Linked DNA regions of Homo sapiens: all the other regions are linked to region 3. The links are contacts of gene promoters, found by promoter capture Hi-C in blood cells and fetal thymus (Javierre and others, 2016). All regions are on one chromosome and are shown on one strand. Each heading gives the region's core, a stretch centred on a gene start or on the middle of the fragment in contact. The rest is flanking DNA. Distances are from core to core; before and after follow the strand shown. Region 1 overlaps MYH9 (myosin heavy chain 9). Region 2 overlaps MYH9 (myosin heavy chain 9). Region 3 holds the start of FOXRED2 (FAD dependent oxidoreductase domain containing 2). Region 4 overlaps APOL1 (apolipoprotein L1).

Region 1 (2,700 bases), core at 132-2,631, 230 kb after region 3:
AGGAGCAGGCCCTGGGCCTCCACCTCTGTGCAGGGCACAGAAGGCTGGGGTGGGGGGAGGAGTGGATTCCTCCCCACCCTGTCCCAGGCAGCGCCACTGTCCGCTGTCTCCCTCCTGATTCTAAAATGTCTCAAGTGCAATGCCCCCTCCCCTCCTTTACCGAGGACAGCCTGCCTCTGCCACAGCAAGGCTGTCGGGGTCAAGCTGGAAAGGCCAGCAGCCTTCCAGTGGCTTCTCCCAACACTCTTGGGGACCAAATATATTTAATGGTTAAGGGACTTGTCCCAAGTCTGACAGCCAGAGCGTTAGAGGGGCCAGCGGCCCTCCCAGGCGATCTTGTGTCTACTCTAGGACTGGGCCCGAGGGTGGTTTACCTGCACCGTTGACTCAGTATAGTTTAAAAATCTGCCACCTGCACAGGTATTTTTGAAAGCAAAATAAGGTTTTCTTTTTTCCCCTTTCTTGTAATAAATGATAAAATTCCGAGTCTTTCTCACTGCCTTTGTTTAGAAGAGAGTAGCTCGTCCTCACTGGTCTACACTGGTTGCCGAATTTACTTGTATTCCTAACTGTTTTGTATATGCTGCATTGAGACTTACGGCAAGAAGGCATTTTTTTTTTTTAAAGGAAACAAACTCTCAAATCATGAAGTGATATAAAAGCTGCATATGCCTACAAAGCTCTGAATTCAGGTCCCAGTTGCTGTCACAAAGGAGTGAGTGAAACTCCCACCCTACCCCCTTTTTTATATAATAAAAGTGCCTTAGCATGTGTTGCAGCTGTCACCACTACAGTAAGCTGGTTTACAGATGTTTTCCACTGAGCATCACAATAAAGAGAACCATGTGCTACGAGCCGTGTCTGTAGCATTTGTCTGCGGCCAGGGGGCCCTGGACAGGACTAGGCCTGGCTTCTGCAGCCAATGCCGGCTCTGCATCGTCGGGAACCAGATTGGCTGAGGCGTAGGCTGAGCTAGCTGTGGGCGGTTGTGCAGAAAAGCTAAGATGGAAAGGTGGGCTAGGCCAGATCCAAGGAGGCTAAGAGCATCTTAGAAACCTTGGTTCAAGGCCGAGCACGGTGGCTCACGCCTGTAATCCCAGCACTTTGGGAGGCTGAGGCAGGGGGATCACCTGAGGTCAGGAGTTCAAGACCAGCCTGGCCAACATCTCTACTAAAAATACAAAAAAAATTAGCCGGGCGTGGTGGTGTGTGCCTGTAATCCCAGCTACTCAGGAGGCTGAGGCAGGAGAATCGCTTGAACCCGGGAGGCAGAGGTTGCAGTGAGCTAAGATTGTGCCACTGCACTCTAGCCTGGGCGAGAGTGAGACTCTGTCTCAAAATAAATAAATAAAAAAATTTAAAAAAGTGGACACTATCTGGGTCAGCTTAAGAAGGTGACCGATTTTTGGCAAAACAGCTGCATGCACATTCCCTGGCCCTTAGCTTCCTATGTGCCACCCTGCCCTGTCACCCTGGGCAAGTCACTCCCTTCCCGGCTAGCTTCCTTGTCTGTTAAGTAAAGTACACTGGATCTTTGCTGCTGGATGGCGGTCCTTGCACCAGAAGCGTTGGCTCCACGTGAGAACTGCTTAGAAACTATTTCAGACCCCGCCCCCAACCCTCTGAATCCAACTCCACTTTAGCAAGACAAGATCTACAAACGATCTTCATGGCATTTTGTCAGAATCTTTTTTTTTTTTTTTTCCCTGAGATGGAGTCTCACTCTGTCACCCAGGCCGGAATGCAGTGGCTCAATCTCAGCTCACTGCAACCTCCGCCTCCCAGGTTCAAGCTATTCTTCTGTCTCAGCCTCCCGAGTAGCTGGGATTACAGGTGCCCGCCACCATGCCTGACTAATTTTTTTGTATTTTTAGTAGAGACAGGGTTTCACCATGTTGGTCAGGCTGATCTGAAACTCCTGACCTCCAAAGTGTTGGGATTACAGGCGTGAGCCACCACACCTGGATTTTTTTTTTTTTTTTTCTGAGACAGAGTCCCTGTCACCCAGGCTGGAGAGCAGTGGAGCGATCTTGACTCACTGCAACCTGTGCCTCCCAGGTTCAAGTGATTCTCGTGCCTCAGCCTTCTGAGTAGCTGAGACTACAGGCGTGCACTACCACACCTGGCTAATTTTTGTATTTTTAGTTGAGATGGGGTTTTGCCATGTTGGCCAGGGTGGTCTCGAACTCCTGACCTCAGGAGATCCACCTGCCTCGGCTTCCCAAAATGCTGGGATTACAGGCATGAGCCACCACACCTGGCCGTTTCACCCCATTTGAACCTTAGTTTTCTCCTCTGGGAAGCCAAATTAATAAATGTTTTTATCACAGGGCCGTCGTTGAAGCATGTATGACTATGTGTGTGAAAATGTTCTGCAAACCAAAAAGGGCTCAGGTGCTATAATTTTTTTTCTGCAAAGGTTGGGCTTTGAAAGGACTTTAATTAAAGATTTTAACTGTAAGATATTCATAACCTAAAATTGCCTTTTTAACCATTTTTAGGTGAACAGTTTCGTGGAATTACATTCACATTGTTGCACAACCACCATCATCCACAGAACTCTTCTCTTGCAAAACTGACACTTTGTACCCAGTAAACATGAACTGCTCATTCTCCCTCCCCCAGCCCTTGACAACCAACACTCTGCTCCTTATCTTTATAAATTTGACCACCGTAAGAACCTCACATGAACGGAATCAT
Region 2 (2,700 bases), core at 148-2,647, 210 kb after region 3:
CTCAGCTCTACCACATGACTTGAGCCCATTTCCTGGGACCTTGCTCTGGAGCTCATGGGGTAGTGAAAAATCAAGGACACGATGTCTGGAAGGTACCTGGAAGCTTCAGAGCTCTCCAGATGAAAGCTACTTTTGTCTGCATGTTCCTTTCCCTCTGGGATCCCGAGCCATGGCGTCCGTCCTTGAGGATGGAGTGGCTTGAGGGTGTTGCGAGGAGCTTGTGTTTTCCACTTGTTGTTTGCAGCTCATGGCAGAGAAATTGCAGCTGCAGGAGCAGCTCCAGGCAGAAACCGAGCTGTGTGCCGAGGCTGAGGAGCTCCGGGCCCGCCTGACCGCCAAGAAGCAGGAATTAGAAGAGATCTGCCATGACCTAGAGGCCAGGGTGGAGGAGGAGGAGGAGCGCTGCCAGCACCTGCAGGCGGAGAAGAAGAAGATGCAGCAGAACATCCAGGTTCCTGCCCGCTGCACCCGGGGAGGGGTGGCGCCGGAGGGGCAGGGCGGGGCGGAGGAGCAGGAACCAGGAGCTGGGAGAACATGGAATTAGGGTCCAAGGAGGCTGCTCCTCACGCAATCTGCTTGGGGCTCTCAGTGAGAGGTGTTCCCTTTGGGCTGGTAGTTTGTGACATGTGCATCTGAGATCTCCATGAGCACTGCCTGGGCCAGCATCAAGGCCAATTTGATTTCCCTGCCATTAGCCCTGGCCCTGGCTAGCCGAAGGGGCACAGGGCCAGCACCTCTGCGTCCTGCCTGTTTCATGGGTGGGAGCTTGCTGCAGGAAACCCTTCAGAACATTGCACCGATGTTCTGGCCCTGTGTCCCAGTTTGAAATCTGGAATCCTACAAATGGGGCTTGGGCCCTGCCTCGGCTGTGGCCCTGGGCTGGCGGACCTTGCCGTCCCCACCTCAGCCATGGCCCTGGGCTCACAGACCTTGCTATTTTCTCCTTGGCGTTTGGATCTGGCCTTCGGACCTTGCTGCCTTCACCTTGGCCATGCCTCTGGGCCTGCTGTCCTTACCGTGTCTCTGGCCCCCGGCAGGAGCTTGAGGAGCAGCTGGAGGAGGAGGAGAGCGCCCGGCAGAAGCTGCAGCTGGAGAAGGTGACCACCGAGGCGAAGCTGAAAAAGCTGGAGGAGGAGCAGATCATCCTGGAGGACCAGAACTGCAAGCTGGCCAAGGTGAGGCCCGTGGCTGTCGCCTGCCGCTGCTCCAGGGGCGCCGTGGATGGGAGAGTGTGGTCACCCTTGCAGGGCCTGGCTCCCCGCTGCTGCTGCTTCCTGTCTCTTCTGCCTGCAGCATGAGGGCTTCTGCTTAACTGCAAGTGCTCCCTGGAGGTCCCATGGGCCTTAGTTGAGGGATTTCCTCATAAGCAAAGGGGCCCTGGGGAAGGGTTTGTCCTTTCCCCTCTGGAAAGCTCTTCTTTGCCAGCCGTGAGACCCGAGCCTGTGTAAAGGTGGCCATCTGTGCAGCATTGCAAGTGTTGGTCACTGTGGGGTTGGGGACACCTTGGTGGCTCTGTGTTGAGATACGGGGTACTCTTCCTCCACTGTCCCTGGGCGGCAGCTATTCCTCTTGAGAATGAGTTGGGTCCCTGTCGGTGTCTGCCCAGGGAGCAGATAGCAGCCGGGGAACCAGTTAGAGGAGAAGGCAGGAGAAGGCAGCCTCCCCACCTTTCGGGCCTCCTCAGAACATGGGAGCCCCAAAGGCTGGGGAGGCTGAGGTGGCAGGACGCCCACCCGGGACTGGGATGAGGGGACTCAGGTGCTTGTGCCGAGCTGTGGCCGCTGGGCAGGGGTGTTGCAGGGGCCACACAGAACAGAAAGCAAGGAGAGCAGCCCGGGGCACCGCGGGGCTGAAGAGGGGGAGGGGCCGTGGCCCACCTGGCAGGTGAGAGAGGGGCACGGAGAAGGTGGCCTGGTGGCGCAGGTGAGCGCCGTGTGGCAGCCTCTTGAAGGAGTGGAGCCATCTGTCCCTGCTGACACTAGCTGTCACCTGGAATCCTTTCTCACCCAAGCCCACAGGGGAAGGGGAAGGGCTTGGGCACCCACATTTTTTGGTTCTAAGGAAGCGTACCTCGCTGTTTCAGGGGAGCTCGTGACCTTTCAAAATTATCCTTTGATCTAGGAAAATCCTAATGAACTTGATCAAGCGTCTAAAGCCCTCTCCATTCAGCCCCAGATTTCCGGGCGAGTCATGCTTTGAGGCTAGCAAGTGTTCTGTGCTCAACCAACACTAAATGCCAGCCTACTCCCCTCTCCCCAGGAAAAGAAACTGCTGGAAGACAGAATAGCTGAGTTCACCACCAACCTCACAGAAGAGGAGGAGAAATCTAAGAGCCTCGCCAAGCTCAAGAACAAGCATGAGGCAATGATCACTGACTTGGAAGGTGAGGGGGTGACGAGCAGGAGGTGATGGGCAGGGGCTGGCGGGCAAGGGCTGGCGGTCAGGGGCCGGCCTGTCTGACCGGAACACCGAGGCCTTCTCAGCTCACGGGTGAGCCTGGGTCACACTACAGCACTGGCTGCTGCCCTTTAGACCTGAGGTCACCAGGTCGAGGGGAGCCGTGTCTGGTGCCTGCGGGAACCTGAGCCTCCAGGCCCCTGTTGCTCTGTGGCTAGATGCCCCCACTGCATGAAGCGTGTTTAGAGAGCTTTGGCATTGCTCTGTTGTGTGCCGTGGGTTTTGGAAGCTTCTGAGACTTCC
Region 3 (2,700 bases), core at 153-2,652:
AAGAAGAAATAAGACATCCCTACTTTATTTTTGGCAAAGTATTCTGCCTGACCTCTCTGGTTGCAATGCTTATTCAACAAATGCTTAAACTTCCGTATGTCAGATACTGGACAATTTCTGCTCTGAGGGAGCTTTTCTCTGATGTTGACACAGACTGAAGAAAGTAAATGACATTCGGCCAGGCGCGGTGGCTCACGCCTGTAATCCCAGCACTTTGGGAGGCCGAGGCGGGCGGATCACGAGGTCAGGAGATCGAGACCATCCTGGCTAACACAGTGAAACCCTGTCTCTACTAAAAATACAAAAAATTAGCCGGGTGTGGTGGCGGGCACCTGTAGTCCCAGCTACTAGGGAGGCTGGGGCAGAAAAATGGCGTGAACCTGGGAGGTGGAGCTTGCAGTGAGCCGAGATCACGCCACTGCACTCCAGCCTGGGCGACAGAGTGAGACTCCATCTCAAAAAAAAAAAAAAAAGAAAAAGTAAATGACATTCTTTGGTAGGTACTTGTAGGCCTGAGAGGTCAGGAAAATTTTTCTAAGGAGTCCCCAGCTACGATTTTTAATTCAAAGAATCTCCAGCCATGCAAATCTGCAGGCTCGCAGTTCTTTCCACCTGCCCTTCCCCCAAGAACACTCAGCCCCATTTCACTGGACTTTGAAGGTTCCTACACTGACTTCGTATTTCTCCCCATGTAAATCTCATGCAGGGGCCACTTGCCACCCCTGGGAAGCCAACCTTCATCATCCAGTTCACGTTATCTTCCTCCTGCCATTTATCTTGCCTCCACTGAGTTTTAATTCCAGGCTCCACTTCCTGTGATTGTAAACATATCCCTTCATCCCTATGTCTCCATTTGACCAGTCAGCTACCAAATGTCGGAAACAATGCCTTGCCCACCTCTCCTATTTGGTGGAAGATTAGGACAGTCGTGTATGTTACTTGGTAAGCAGTACACTGAGTCACTGTAGCAAACGCTTGTTAATTGGCTTATCGGTCCTGGCTCCACCACGCTGGTTTCCAGTCCCACAAAACTGGGTAGGCCAACTAGTTTTAGCGTTTGGCTACATTCATGGAATATGAGAGCTAGGATTAGCTCCAAAAATCACGTGCTCCCCTCCCTCCGTGTAGAGAGGCACCTTTTAAAACGAAGGACCCAGTTCCCCATCCCGGATCTCCAGACCTTCCACCCTCGCGGGTGCGCGCTAGCCCCAGGCCCCTCTACCAGCCCCCGGAGCAGCGAACGCAGCACGCGCGCGCCTCTCCCGCGCTGGGCCGGAGCAGGCAGCCTGCCAGCTGGTCCCGGCGTGCCGCGCGCCGCGCACGTGACCCCGCCCCCTGCCATTGGTCCGGGCGCGAGGGGCGGAGCCGCCGCGGAGCAAGCGAGCCAAGCGCGGCCTCATTAGACCACGGGTTGCAGCCGGAGCGGCTGGGAGGTTCGCGCGTTTCTCAGGGTTCGGTCGGAGGCGGGGAGGCCGGAGCTGCGGGCGTAGGGACCTGGCGGCTCCTGAAGCGCACGCGGGCGGGCGGCAGGTGTGCGCGGCATCCCTGTCACGTGGCCGAAGAGCCTGGGGCGCGCGGACCCTGGCAGGGGGCGGGGCGCACGCAGGCCACACCCACTTCAGGCTCCCACCCGGTCGCTGGAGAGGGGCCAAGGCCTCTGGAAGGTCCAACCTGGAGGGTGGTTCAAAGGGGTGTTGGGCACCCTCAAATTAGGGGAAAATTGGGGAGTACGCTCTCCTTCCCCAGGGTGGAGGTTACTACAATCATAAGCGGGGAGCCGGTGCCCCTGAGGAAGGAGACCCTGAGGGAGATAAGATGGAGGGGCTCGGGATTCCGGGGAGCCCCAAGTCCCAGCTTGAAACGGTGGAGTCCGGGCAAATGAGCTCTGAGGACGGCTTCTGGGCCTGGCCGTGACCCAGATTGCAGTGAGAGTTCCCGCAGGCCCCGCCTCTTTCTGGGCCTCGTGTCTCCCAGCCGCCGGGCCGGGTGCGAGGCCTTACCCCTCTGATCTGCTGCAGGATGGGCCTCTCCGCTGCGGCCCCGTTGTGGGGTCCCCCGGGGCTGCTCCTGGCCATCGCCCTGCACCCAGCGCTGTCGGTGCCCCCGCGCCGGGACTACTGCGTGCTGGGCGCTGGGCCCGCGGGCCTGCAGATGGCCTACTTCCTGCAGCGCGCTGGACGCGACTACGCAGTGTTCGAGCGGGCCCCGCGGCCCGGCAGCTTCTTCACACGCTACCCGCGGCACCGCAAGCTCATCAGCATCAACAAGCGGTACACGGGCAAGGCTAACGCCGAGTTCAACCTCCGCCACGACTGGAACTCTCTGCTCAGCCACGACCCCCGGCTGCTCTTCAGACACTACTCGCGTGCCTACTTCCCCGACGCCCGCGACATGGTGCGCTACCTGGGTGACTTCGCGGACACGCTGGGGCTCCGTGTCCAGTACAACACCACCATCGCCCACGTCACTCTGGACAAGGACCGACAGGCCTGGAATGGCCACTACTTCATCCTAACTGACCAGAAGGGCCAGGTGCATCAGTGCAGGTAAGGCCGGTGCCAGAGCTCACCTGCGGAAGCTGGGACCTTCCCCACACGAACCACACACCTTGATTGGCCAGTAGGTATGGGAGGAATGGACGAAAAAGGGTATTTCGCTTTTTTTTTTTTTTAAGACGGAGTCTCACTCTGTCGCCCAGGC
Region 4 (2,700 bases), core at 134-2,633, 240 kb after region 3:
CTCAGGGAGGGGCTGGAGACTCCAGGTCAGCCATGAGGGCAGCTTGTGATCCAGCCCCAGCAGATACTCTGGACACTAAGGCATGGGTTGAGAAAGAAGGACTTTCTCCTTGACCAACTCCAGCTGGGCTCTTCTGAGCCTCTTCTCCACTAGGCGCCGACCTTGGCCTTCCACAGCCACCCACTGCTTGCTGGACCTGCACCACCCAGCTCAGCAAGAATCTCCCCAAGTCAGTTTAGGGAGGGTCTTCCCCCCTTGCTGTCTGATTACGCTTTGCTATCTGATTATGCTCTTCACCCCCACCATTGATGGGTGAGTGTCTGACCTGCCTTTAGTGAGAATCCTGTTAGGCCAATTTAGCAGGAACCCCCCACTCTGGTGTCTCCTATCAGTCCTGTTCCATCTCCCGCCCCCACCCTGGTGTTGGCTGTGACTCCCCCTCTGTCTTTACTATATTTGGAGCTGGGCTCAGTCTCCCTCCCCTGTAACAACAATCCTGAAAAAAGGCTTCATTTCTGGTTTAATGTGATTCACAGGAATTTTTCCTTAACTGGGTGAGCTTCCCTGGTTGGCAACACCGCATGTGTTTTGTCCCACATTCACACAGGAGAACACAGCGTCCTGAGGACAATGAAGCTTCACACTTAAAACCCTCCCAAACTCTGCCCCGTGTGTCTCTTTCTTAGGCTGATTTTAATCTGTGTTCTTTCCGTGTGATCAACCACAATTGTGAAATAGCAGTTTTCAGTGAGTTATGTGAGTCCTTCCAGTGAATTACAAAATCAAAGGATGGATTTAGAAATCCCCTTAAATTTGCAGGTGGTGTCAAAGGTAAGGGTGCCCTCAGACATTGCAGTCTGGCTATCTCTGAGTACTTTGAATTCAAACAAAAACAAAACCCCGGAGAGACAGGAGTTCACTTTGCCTGGCATCTGCTCCCTTCCAATGCCTCATGCCCTTTCACCTGGCTGAAGGCTACTGGTTCTGGCCACTGCCCCAGCTGACTGGAGTGGGAGATCTGGCTATTCATTCTGGCTCCACATGGACGCTCCAGCCACCTTACTGCCTCCTGACCTACCACCTGCACCCCCAACCTTCCAGGTCTCACTCGCAGGTGTCACCAGCCTAACTGATGCCTTAGTAGTGACAGCTTCACCTGTGTGCACACCAAGGCCATTTGCAATTTTATGGAACCTCTAGAAGATTCAAAACACTTTCAGAACCACCTATATAAATTGCTAATGCTGAAAAGACCTGAATTTGGACAAGATGGTAGAGGAAGTGTTTTCCTCCTTGGTTGGGAAGTTGTGAGTCTGCTCAGTATCCCTGAAATTACACAAATTGGCAGCAACTAATTCTACTATGAAAATGGTCACTAAGACATACTGCTTGTCAATGTCAGGGGTTTCTCTGTGTAGAAGAGAAGAAGGTCTCAAAGGGTAGCCCAGAACTTGCCAGTTCCAAGGCGTGGTGTGAGAGACACAGGCAACCATGACCCTATATGCCCATGAGTGTTGGGATCATCCAGACAGGGAAGAAATATCCCTCTCCCACTCACATGTCCTCTGCAAGTTCATGACCTCCTTAAGTTTCAAGCCCTTGGTGCCTCTCTTTCCACACCCTAGTCCCAGCCCTGGTGCCCCAGCCTTCCTGCTTGTCCTACAACCAAGGCTGACTCTTGCTCCATCCTGACTCCAGGCTCTGACGCTGATCCCGGTCTCTCTGGGCCTTTGGGCAGGATCTTGGTGTTGGTTCCCCACCTTTGACCTGGAGTTGCCTCTAAGGCCTTCACCACACTCCTATCACATTGAGTTGCTATTCCTATTAGACTGATGACAGTTTCCAGTCTCTGACATAAGCCCAGAGCCCAGGGACTGGACACAGACAGAGCTGGAAAGAGACCCAGCGCTGTGCAACTCCACTCCAGCCTCTCGGCATCCTGGACCAGCAGAAGGGTCCTGCCGTGTTTATGGAATTCCTCAGATGAGAAAAAGGGCTCCAGCCAGCATCCCCAGGAACACACATTGGTTAGGTCAGGATTTTTCTGACTTGTCCCAAAGGTCAAGTCCTGCTGGGCTCCCATCTTCAAGAAGAAGATCCTTAACCCTGGTTCTGTTTCCACCAAGCTTGTAAGATGTTAACGTTAACTGTGCACCTACTGTGTGTCAGTCATTATGCTAAGCACTTTACATGCACGATCTCATTTTTCTCACAATAAAACTCCATTGATGAAGAAAGGCTGAAAGTGAGAAAGTAACTGGCAAAGTTCCCATCACCAGCAGATGGCAGAAATGACCCTGTTCCTGTGGGCTTCCTATCCCCTCAGCCTGAGGCTACTCACTGCCAGCGAAGGACATGGAGGAAATATTCTTCCTGGAGTGCCAAGAAGGTCATCCTCAAGCCCAGCAGAGGGGGCTGCCTGGAGGAGGTGTGCCTGTCAGGGAAAACTAGCCCAGGGGAGAGCTGGGTGGCATCGCCGGAGTGCCCAATGGAGGTAACCCCATGGAGCTTACCTGGGCAGTTCAGCAGCAGCCACGAATCCGTTCCAGGCCTCATTATCAGTCAGCAGGAGTAGCAGATTCTGTGTGCTCACTTTTTCCTTGAAATACTTAATGGCATCCTCAATAAAGATACTGCTCTCTAGTTGGAAAGAAGAAAGGATAAGGTTGGAGGAAAGTGTGGGAGTGCATAACAGCCATT

Evidence for each region. Contacts are between HindIII fragments. The CHiCAGO score rates a contact against its expected background, and 5 or more counts as called.
Region 1: a contact is called between a fragment that was not itself captured here and the fragment with the promoter of FOXRED2 in region 3, in 1 of 17 cell types (activated CD4 T cells). The highest score is 5.2, in activated CD4 T cells.
Region 2: a fragment that was not itself captured here is called in contact with the fragment with the promoter of FOXRED2 in region 3 in 10 of 17 cell types (neutrophils, naive B cells, naive CD4 T cells and 7 more); the score reaches 9.7 in neutrophils.
Region 4: a contact is called between a fragment that was not itself captured here and the fragment with the promoter of FOXRED2 in region 3, in 1 of 17 cell types (neutrophils). The highest score is 6.5, in neutrophils.

The regions. Positions count from the first base shown.
Region 1 is chr22:36,279,431-36,282,130 of GRCh38, reverse strand. MYH9 (myosin heavy chain 9) reads left to right here. Exons shown (of 41, transcript NM_002473.6): 41 at 1-851. Among named protein-coding and RNA genes, the nearest start is that of MIR6819, 6.1 kb to the left of the region's middle. The HindIII fragment of the contact is 4,455 bases long and covers 1-2,700 here.
Region 2 is chr22:36,298,602-36,301,301 of GRCh38, reverse strand. MYH9 (myosin heavy chain 9) reads left to right here. Exons shown (of 41, transcript NM_002473.6): 22 at 245-451; 23 at 1,038-1,175; 24 at 2,260-2,383. Among named protein-coding and RNA genes, the nearest start is that of MIR6819, 13 kb to the right of the region's middle. RefSeq lists an enhancer at 147-1,346. The HindIII fragment of the contact is 2,583 bases long and covers 106-2,688 here.
Region 3 is chr22:36,505,742-36,508,441 of GRCh38, reverse strand. It overlaps FOXRED2 (FAD dependent oxidoreductase domain containing 2), which reads left to right and starts at 1,402. Exons shown (of 9, transcript NM_001102371.2): 1 at 1,402-1,433; 2 at 2,019-2,546. The coding sequence starts at 2,020. RefSeq lists a silencer at 1,156-1,655. The HindIII fragment of the contact is 16,870 bases long and covers 1-2,700 here.
Region 4 is chr22:36,261,536-36,264,235 of GRCh38, reverse strand. It overlaps APOL1 (apolipoprotein L1), which reads right to left. Exons shown (of 6, transcript NM_003661.4): 5 at 2,514-2,640. Among named protein-coding and RNA genes, the nearest start is that of APOL1, 9.8 kb to the right of the region's middle. The HindIII fragment of the contact is 1,490 bases long and covers 639-2,128 here.